Regions from separate parts of the Homo sapiens genome. Here regions 1 and 2 are each linked to region 3. Evidence: promoter capture Hi-C in 16 types of primary human blood cells and fetal thymus (Javierre and others, 2016). All regions are on one chromosome and are shown on one strand. The core of a region is centred on a gene start or on the middle of the fragment in contact, and the rest is flanking DNA. Distances in the headings are between cores, read along the strand shown. Region 1 overlaps LINC-PINT (long intergenic non-protein coding RNA, p53 induced transcript). Region 2 overlaps LINC-PINT (long intergenic non-protein coding RNA, p53 induced transcript). Region 3 holds the start of MKLN1-AS (MKLN1 antisense RNA).

Region 1 (3,162 bases), core at 562-3,061, 320 kb after region 3:
TCAGTGGGAGGTGAGTTACCACGTGGGCCCTTCCAGGAACCTTCCTTAAGGGACAGTGTGTCTTCCTGCTTTGCCGTTTCTTCTCCGTCCCTTTCCCGTTCTGTCTGGAATGTGGAAGCCACCATCTTGAACCGTGAGGTTGAGGTCACACATGGGTGGACTGCCATGCTAACCTTCCTGGGCACTTCCCTGAGAAGGAAACTTCTCTTGTTTAAGCCACTGATATTTTGGGTCTCCTGCCACCCTGAGCCAAACCTAATTCTAATTAATGTAGGTTCCAATCTGCTAGGCAAGTTCAGCTTGATGTTACTTAAAACTTAACCATCCTGTGAGCTGGGTATTTCTGTTTTCCTTTAATGGCTTACGGGACTGGGATTAAAGAAAAATTAAGTAACTTGCCTCAGTACTTCCCAGCCAGCTAGGACAGCATTTGAATCCCTGTCTGACCTTTCTGAATTCCAGTCTCCAAAAGTTTAATCCTTGCTGTAGTGATTAACATGAAACTGAAGGAGGGCATGTGACACATGGTTTTGCAACATTCACGTTTTGGCAGAGCCCCAATTTTGTGGAATTTTTTTTTTTTTTTTTTATAAAGACGTTGGGTTTTTCAGAGAAATTCATTTGTGGCTTTTTGAAAGTGACAAACATGTTAACTGTATTTCAGTCAATAATACTTATCAGAAAAGCTTTTTTTTTGTTTCAAAGAATCCCACGTGGTTCCTCTAATTTCTAGTATTAATTGTAGTTCGCTAATTAGGAGAGTTCTGTGAAAAGAAAATAGTTGGAAGAGAGACTGTGGTTCATTTTCTTTAGTTATATCTACATTGGAGAACATTTCAAGACAATTAGGAATTTTTTTTTTTTTTTTTTTAGAATTCTCTATGCAATAATTCCAAAATGTTACCAATATTTATTACATGATTATGTAGAAATTAGGATGATAGTGGAATTAAGGCCATAAATTGTTCGGATTGTGACATGGGAGCAGCCACTGCAGCCAGTGTTTCTGCAAAGTTTAGTCAGAGGAGAACAGAGACCTAGGATGGCCCCGTGCTGTGCTGCTGGGGCCTGGGAGGCTGGGTGTTGGGGAAGGAAGCTGGCAGCGGATGCCTGGAAGGCCAGTGGGGCCCAGCAGGTCTGGGGAGGTGGCTAAATGGGGCCCAGTGCAAACTAGTAGCTGGCAGCAGAACCTGCAGTGGAGTCGAGGGTCTTGATCTGCAGCCAAGGCTCCTTCTGGTGGGGCCCTGAGTGGCCCTTCAAGTCCATTCATTTTTGTCCTCAGAGTGGAACACTTAATTGGCCACAAGCACAGCAAACTCCCAGTTGTTCCCGGGAACACAAGATCTGCAGGATTTGCCCTATGAAAAAGGATGCTGTGGCAACTAAGTTTGGGAAAATGCTCTGTTGTAATACCTCTCCTAGCAACTCACATGCCCTCTTAGCACTGTAAAAGTCTAGGATGTTGAGAAATTTGTTTAACTTTATTTAACCCAGTTTCTGAAACTGACTTAAACATGGAAATCAAATCTTTTTTTTTTTAATGTGATGACCCGTGGAACTACTACGTGCATTTTCTGACAAGCAGTTAACAGTGCTCTCGGAAATAGTTGTGTGAGTAGGTTGAGTTCCTGAGAAGACGCTAGATTTGAATCTGAGAGTCTGGGACTTTTCTTGCTGTCCTACTTGCTTTTATTTGCCAATCTATATTGTCTACACTTGAGTGTGCTTGCTCATACGTATTTCACAGAAGCAAAACTTTGATACTTGAGAGGCCCTTTGAGGTCATCTAGTTCTGCCTTCTCATTTGCTGGTTGAAGAAACTAAGGAAGGTTAAGTCACTTGCCAGAGGCCAGTAAGTGAGTATGCTGGAGCCATTCAGTGTGCCATTAGTCAATCTGAAGTGGAAATTACTTGAGTTAGTTCCTTACTTTCAAGACTTTCATACTGATATCTTGAGATTAGGATGGGATAAGAATGAAAGCATTGCTGTTGGATTTCCTGCCAAGGTTTGGGATGGGTAAAATGAGCAAAAGAAAGTGCCCTGGGTATAGATGGTGCTTAATAATAGGACTGCTGCAGAGGAAAGCAAGAATCCAGATCAAGACTGCCCCCCAAAATTAACTTATTTGTGTGTCTAAGAATGACTTAAAATAGGCTCCTATTGCAAAAGAATGTAGGAAGTGCGGTGGTGCAATCACGGCTCACTGTAACCTCGACCTCCCAGGTTCAAGCGATCCTCCCATCTTAGACTCCCAGGTTCATTCATTTTTGTCCTCAGAGTGGAACACTTAATTGGCCACAAGCACAGCAAATTCCCACAGGTGTGCACCACCACGACCGCCTAATTTTTTTTATTGGTAGCGACAGGGTCTCTCTGTGTTGTTCAGGCTGATCTCCAAGTCCTGGACTCAAGCTGTCCTTCTGCCTCGGCCTCCCAAAGTGTTGGGATTACAAGCATGAGCCACTGCGCCCAGCTGCTTCTGAGTGGCTCCTAAGCAATGAACTGATGAACAACTAAACAGATGACATTGTAGCTATTGCCACATTTCATAGCATGGCGACTACCTTGAGCCTGTCAGTGCTCATTAGCTGCAGGAGGTAACGCTTGTTTGTTTTTCATAGAGTTAAAGGTATGAAAGCATGTTTTTTGGAACTTTCTGCAAGGCCCATGTTATTGACGTCCTTAAGATCCAAATTATTTTGCATTAACTTAGGTTTTTTTCTCTTTCTTGGTGAAGTTAGTAGACCCTTGCTTATTGATTGGTATATGAAATTGGATCATTTTATTGTTGTGAGAGGTTCAGTTTTATTAAATATCAGAGTATCACCTTTCATACATTTTTTGGAGCTAATTTTGAGTGTTTTTCTTGTATTTTATGAAATACTATCTATAGTCATCTAACGAAACAATGCTGTTTTTCTGTTACAAAGCTTTCTGTTCACGTGTCTACATTTGAAGTTACTGCATTCAGAATGAAAGCCATACATCTGACCTCACAATGTAAGGATATTCAGTTTTCTTCCTGATAGCCTAGAAGAAGGAAAAGAATCACAAGGTTGTAGCATTGCCCTGTTTCTGTTAGACAAGAGAAGTCCTCTAATGGCAAACCCTTGATGGTGTGCAGTTTCCAAAGTCTGGTCCCCGTTGGAGCCTCTCACCTC
Region 2 (3,019 bases), core at 515-3,014, 300 kb after region 3:
CTTAACACTAAGATGTAGAAACAACAGCCTTAACATCAGGTTATCCCATCTGATTTTTGGCTTGGTGCAAACACAGAGCACCTAAAGGTGAATTACACAAGGAAATGGAACACCTTCGCCTGGAAGGTTGACTCCTGCACTTGGCTGTTGGCATTTCATGCATTCAACAAACATTTAGGATGTGCTCATTTTGAGCCAGGCTCTGTGATAGGGTGGGGAATACAGAAATAAAAAGGCCCTGTGCTGTCCTCAGTGAGCTTCCACTCTGGTGAGATAAATGCAGTGCAGTACAGTAACAGCTCTGATACTGAAGCATCTGGAAGGACTTGGGTCCAGCCTCTTGGCAAGTTCTCCTGGAGGAACTAACATTTGACCTATGATTGACATGGACTTTGGAGATGAATAGAGGTTAACCAGAGAAGATGGGAGTTGCCATTGGGGGGTTGGGGCAGAGAGTGAGGGAAAGTGTCAGCCCTGGTGGGTGCTACCTGGAGGAGGTTGCTGAGTATTGGAAGGCCCAAGGAGGCCAGAGACCAAAAAGTGTCCTGGGGACTGCAGGGTAAAAGGACCTGCTTTAGGTTAGGTAGCATTTGTTAAAACTTTTCGGACAGTTTAATTTTGAGCATGTGCCAACAGTTTGTTTTAGCTTTGCAATGCAAGGAGAGAGTCCTGCAGTAGGCACATTCAATGATTCGCTCTTGGTAGGGACATTAAGGGAAGAAAGTGATTAAATATCATCATTGAAACGAATGTCTGGTTAAAAACCTCTACACTCTGATAGTTGACAGTCAGCCGGGTAGATGGTAATGAGTTGCCCAGAGCAAGTCTTAATTTCCTTAAAGTTCATTTAGGAAATTGCATTAGAAAAAAAGCAAGCTTTTTTTTTTTTTTTTCCCTGGAATGCTGTTCATTTCTTCCTAGTAGGATACTGTGAATTTTCTAGCAGACCACTTGGTTCTATTCCAGACCAGGTACGGAACAGTTTTTCTTTGACAATTTTGAGATTACAGTGGAATGCAATCAAGTTTTTCAAGGACCTACCTGGTGAAGAGCTTTCTAAACTAAGCTGAGAGGAACTTGGGTTTTCATCCTGAGGGCAGTGTGGAAGCCAGGGAGGGAATTCATTTAAGTGGAGGAAAATCTCGACCATCCTTGTAGGGAGTGGATTAGCTGCAGTGTGAGGTTGGAGCAGTGGGAATAGTAGTTGGCAGAAAAGTTTAGTTATCCTGGGGAGAAATGATGAGGGCTTTGAGTTTTTTTGTTTTTTGTTTTTTGTCTTTTTTTTGAGATGGAGTCTTGCTCTGTTGCCTAGGCTTGATTGAGTGCAGTGGCACAATCTCGGCTCACTGCAACCTCCGCCTCCTGGGTTCAAGCAATTCTCCTGCCTCAGCCTCCCAAATAGCTGGGATTACAGGCGCATCCCACCATGCCCAGCTAATTTTTGTATTTTTAGTAGAGACAGTATTTCACCATGTTAGCCAGGCTGGTCTCAAAGTCCTGACCTCAAGTGATCCACCTGCCTTGGCCTCTCAAAGTGCTGGGAATACAGGCAAGAGCCACACCGTGCCCAGCCTGAGAGCCTTGAGTTCTGATCTGTCTTTTCCTCTCCTACTCAAACTCCTCTACCCCGAGGCAGAAGCATAGCTGGGGGGATGGAGGTGGAAATTGGTTGTTGCTTTTCCTCCAGAAGAGTTGGTTCAAAATTTTTAAATTTAAAGTAAATGATGGTAAGATCATGATGCAAGGATGTTAGAGGAAGCAGCCAGACTTTGAGATCAGGGCTGAGAGAAAGTAGTCAAAGGCCTTCTGCTGAGTGTACTCTGCCTCCAGCCACTGAGCCCACTTGCCCCATCTCTGTCTTTCCCGGGCCTGCTCACGTCTCTAGCCTCAGGCACTGCTTCAGAACCACAGTACCATCTGGCCTGGGTGTTCTGGCTGTTCTCAGTATTTCTGCTCTCATTTGCTGGAATTATGCAACACTCGGTCCTTCCTCCGAGGGCCGCCAGATGAGCCTACTTCAGTGCATCTGCTGTGGTTAAAACAGAATCTTCTGAGATGCGTTTATGCTAAGTTGCATACATATTTGTGTATGGTGATCAGCCCTGTTTACTTGGCATACAGCAAAATAGATCTATGTTTTCTTGCCACTGTTCAGTGATGATGTCATGTCATTCTGGGCAGAGGTAGAGCCAGATTGTAAGAAAGGACAGGGAACCAGAGCTGGGGGCGGAGCTGGGGGCGGAGCTAGGGGTGATTTCTGCAGTGATTGGGGGGTTGCACCCCCTCTGACATTATTTTGCTTTGGTGTCTCCATGGTCTGCTTTCCCAGGTTCTTCTCTATTGTCTTTCATTATAATGTTTAATCACTACCATGTTAACATACTGCCATAAAATAACACTCCACAATTACCTGGTAACAGATAGTATGGGTATATTTGAAGACATGCATTTCTCTTCTGAATTTGCTGTGAGTAGGGACTTGGCCTTTTTAACTTTTATTTCCCTAAGAAACCTGTATTCAGAATAAATAATTATTCACCTCTTATGTTTTTTTTCGCATGTCATCCAGGTTGCAAAAATATCTGGCTTTAATAATTCCGGAGGACTTAGTTTTTGGGGAGCAAAGGTAGTGAGTCAAACCTGCAAGCTTAGAAAGGAGAATTCATTTGAGTTTCATCATTCGGTCTGGAGGTTTCCTAGGCAACCACTTATGTAGTAATTAAAAGATGAGGAACTAAAAAGGTATGTGCTCGGCAATTTTAATCCTCAAATGCAATCCTTGTCAGATTGAGATCACAGAAACAACAACTTAAAATAAGTAAATTAAAAAGGCCAACATTTAATTAAAGGACACACACTGTTATTAAGGGGGGTGTGTGTGTGCGTGTGTGTGTGTATGTGTGTGTGTTGCTTTATCTTTTTAATGCTCTGTCTTGGAAGGGAATGTTCATATATATATGTATATATTTTATACTCACCTATTTGGGAAAGCAGAAGTGAGGTTATCGCTTCAAGTGAC
Region 3 (3,414 bases), core at 205-2,704:
TTCCAGTTGCAGCTCCATTTTGAGATTCTTCATTGATATAACCAGTGAAATCAAATTTGGATAAATGTGAAGAATTTCTCAAATACAGATGGAAAACTTACTTGAGTATGCTTCACAGATCTAGTCACTTTTTTGTTTAGTAAAATACTCAGTAAAATATATTATTCATTAATTTGTTTCGTTCATAAAATCGTTTCGGTCCTGTGAGATGGTTAGAGGGACAACTAGCACTTTTCTTCAGGATCTGCACAGATCTTAACCCTTTACTAAGCCAGTTCCTCCACTAGCATGTAAAATTGGAGTTAGATCTGCTCCTCCTTTCAAAGATAAGCCAAAGATAAATAAGATACTATGTAAGAGTATTTTCAGCATTTCAGAAGGAATTTGCTAGAGAAAAAAACACCACCAACAAAAACCTAACAATGCAACTGAATTTTTTTAACACCTAAATCAGGGATCAAGACAAAGCCGGTGTTGAAAATCAAATTCATTAAAGCCAGATGTTTCTATGTTTGAGTTTCCGGACTGGGAAACGTGTCTGTGTCCATACAAACCCATCTTCTAATGAGCCGTAATACTGAAATTCTTCGGTAACGTCCCTCCTTCCCACTCCCTATCTTTTTCAGAACTTCCAGGCATTAAAGACAACGTCTGCCAATCCTACAAGTTCTCCCCGCCTGCTAGGATTCAGATGGATTCCACAACTTTTCAGCCTTCCGTGACTTTTAACACTACTCTAGAGCTAATCACTTTTAATGACCCCACTCTGGAATAGACACTCCTCGGCTTTACACTTTGTCCCGGCAGCAATCGACTGAACTGTCCCCCGACGCCGACCACCTCGGACGACCTCAGACATTCGGGGTAGTTTGCCCGCGGGCAGGGCCCCGCCAACTCCGATTCCTGCCCCAGAGCCGTCCGCCCCCCAAGCCCTCCTCAACCTCAACCCCCAAATCCCAAGCGCAGAACCGCTGGGCTTCCGGTTCTCCTGTGCGCGCCCCGGATCCGCCACACACCTCGCCCCTTCTCCCTGGGCTCGCTCTCCGGACCCTAACCCCTTCCCGAGCGAGGCCGAGCAACGCTCTCAGCAGCTGAACTAAGACTCCGGAGGCCGCACGTCCCCCTCAGCAGGCCCCGCCTGGGCCTCTCGGCTCGGCTGCCCTCCATTGCACCCCTGGCCCAACCGTGCTGACGCGGAAGGGTGGGGCAGCACGAGCTCAAGGCCCGGCACTTACTCGGGAAGGTAGGTGGAGGAAAAGGAGCTCCACTTGTGTAGCGCGTAGGGGAGAAGCCGGCACTCGGGCGCCGCAGCGACAGCTCCGCCAGCCGCCATCTTGTCAGCACCGTAGCGGCCGCCACCGACCGCTGGCAGCGAACGGGAGGAGGGGAGGGGGCGTGGCCTGCTCTTAAAGGGGCCGCCGCCCTCCCCGGCCGCCCGCGCTCCCCGCCCCGCATCGTTACCCGAGCCCAGCGCCGGGCCAATGTCCTATCTCAGGGTTTCCCACGTCGCTCGCTCCTTGACGGCTGACCGACACTGGGTCTGAGGTGTAAGCGCTTTCCAGGCCCTTCCCTGGGGCTTGGAGGGGAATGGCGCAAAGGACTTTTCTTACAAGCAGAGGTAAGGAAAAGCCGAGATGATTACGAACAGAAACACGTTGTAGTTATGGAGCAGGAAGGGAAAATAAGAAGACCAAGTTGGAAAAGGGACGCCTGTGCGCTTTTGGAAGCCACCGCCCTCGCCAGTTTATAAGTCCTTTACGGAAACAACACTGAAGGGAGCTGGAGGGCAGTAGCTAATGTGCTGTCCTCCTGGAGTGGTCCTGGTTTTAAATGTCTTGTCCCCGCCTTCCAGAGTCAGATGGAGACAGGAAAAGGAAATGGTCCCGTGTCCTCCTACCCTGTTTGGTTTGCAGTCTGTGATGCCCTTCATTGTAAACATTTCTTGTGAGCCGCATCCTACTAATCTTGTGGCATTGGTTTGCTCGGGAATGACGTTCACCCACAGACCTGAAAAGTCCTTACAGAGTTGGGAAGCTGCGTGTCATCATTTTTTCAGTTGGCAAATCTGCCCACTTTGAACTGACATAATTGTAGCCTAAAAGTTCAGAGAGAGAGTAGTTCAGGAAAAAGACTATTCCTTCTTCTTAGAGGGAACAGCAGCCCTGAAAACTATGTGGACATCATACCAGCTTCTTACAACAAAAGGTGCACTTGGTCTAAATTATCTGGCAGCTCTAGATAACGTTCTCATCAAGTACCTGTTTGTTGTAGTTATGCATATTTATTCCTTGGCTTAGCCACTGCAGTTACCAAAGAGTATGTCGCTTATTGTCTAAGAGGTTGGACTCCTGAAAGCCTGGACAGTGTCATCATCTTCACCTGAAGAGTGGAAAAATTCAAGCAAAGAGTTTCTCAGGAAATGACCAAGTGAGTCAAAACACCTCAATAATTGTATTCTCTTCCCGTTGTAATCATTAACCTGCCGAAATTCCCTCCAGTCCTTTCCTGACTTCCTGTTTCTATAGATGGAAATTTTAATAGTGGGCTCTACTAGGATATCAAATCAAAAAAGCCAGATAGAAAGGCCAGGCCCGGCACGGTGGCTCACACCTGTAATCCCAGCACGTTGGGAGGCTGAGGTGGGTGGATCACCTGAGGTCAGGAGTTCGAAACCAGCGTGGCCAACATGGTGAAACCCCGTCTCTACTAAAAATACAAAAGTTAGCTGCGTGTGGTGACATACACCTATAATCTCAGCTACTTGGGAGGCCGAGGCACAAGAATCACTTGAACCCAGGAGGCAGAGGTTGCAGTGAGCCAAGATCACACCACTGCACTCCAGCCTGGGCAACAGAGTGAAATTCTGTCTCAGAAAAACAAATAAAATACAATAAAATAAAAAATTACATGTGCTTTCTGTGTTGCAGCAGGTTGGAAAAGCATGTGTTCCTTAAGGGAATGCTGTAACTGTAGTGACTTGGGTCGGGAGCTGCCAGAGACAGTGGGAAAGGGCCAGAGAATGTTAGCCCCAGAGATGATATAGTGGTTATCTTTGAAGAAAATAGACACTTTAAAGGGGAGGAATTAACTCACTCCAATTCCTTTGGGCCCCAGATTTTATAATTCCACTTCTTACCTTAATGTAAGTCAAGTCCTTGTTCTTTTCCAGACATAGTTCCTGAGCAATCTTTTTTAAAAACACATGTTAATTAGTTCTTCTTAAGCTTAAATCCTTTTGGTGACTTTCAATACCCTTCTAAACTGTTTAACAGAGGCCCTTCATAACCTGCCTTGATTTTTCTCTCCAGCTTCCTCACCACCACCCCCCCCCCACTTTTCTCCTTTGCGCTTTTGACATCTGCCCACTAACTAGCACACTGAATTTGTTCCCATAGAGTCCTTGTTCTCTCTAGC

Evidence for each region. Contacts are between HindIII fragments. The CHiCAGO score rates a contact against its expected background, and 5 or more counts as called.
Region 1: a contact is called between a fragment that was not itself captured here and the fragment with the promoter of MKLN1-AS in region 3, in 6 of 17 cell types (neutrophils, monocytes, total CD8 T cells and 3 more). The highest score is 9.4, in neutrophils.
Region 2: a fragment that was not itself captured here is called in contact with the fragment with the promoter of MKLN1-AS in region 3 in 2 of 17 cell types (neutrophils and total CD8 T cells); the score reaches 7.4 in neutrophils.

Annotation. Positions count from the first base shown.
Region 1 is chr7:131,009,548-131,012,709 of GRCh38, reverse strand. The region is part of intron 3 of LINC-PINT (long intergenic non-protein coding RNA, p53 induced transcript); the gene reads left to right. Among named protein-coding and RNA genes, the nearest start is that of LINC00513, 98 kb to the right of the region's middle. RefSeq lists an enhancer at 3,108-3,162. The HindIII fragment of the contact is 2,245 bases long and covers 689-2,933 here.
Region 2 is chr7:131,026,563-131,029,581 of GRCh38, reverse strand. The region is part of intron 3 of LINC-PINT (long intergenic non-protein coding RNA, p53 induced transcript); the gene reads left to right. Among named protein-coding and RNA genes, the nearest start is that of LINC-PINT, 82 kb to the left of the region's middle. RefSeq lists an enhancer at 2,003-2,142. The HindIII fragment of the contact is 1,771 bases long and covers 879-2,649 here.
Region 3 is chr7:131,325,819-131,329,232 of GRCh38, reverse strand. It overlaps MKLN1-AS (MKLN1 antisense RNA), which reads left to right and starts at 1,454. Exons shown (of 6, transcript NR_125364.1): 1 at 1,454-1,618; 2 at 2,298-2,427. MKLN1 (muskelin 1) reads right to left here and starts at 1,357. Exons shown (of 18, transcript NM_013255.5): 1 at 1,236-1,357. The coding sequence starts at 1,333. RefSeq lists enhancers at 439-1,015, 1,022-1,321, 1,016-1,592 and a silencer at 1,372-1,531. The HindIII fragment of the contact is 3,998 bases long and covers 1-3,226 here.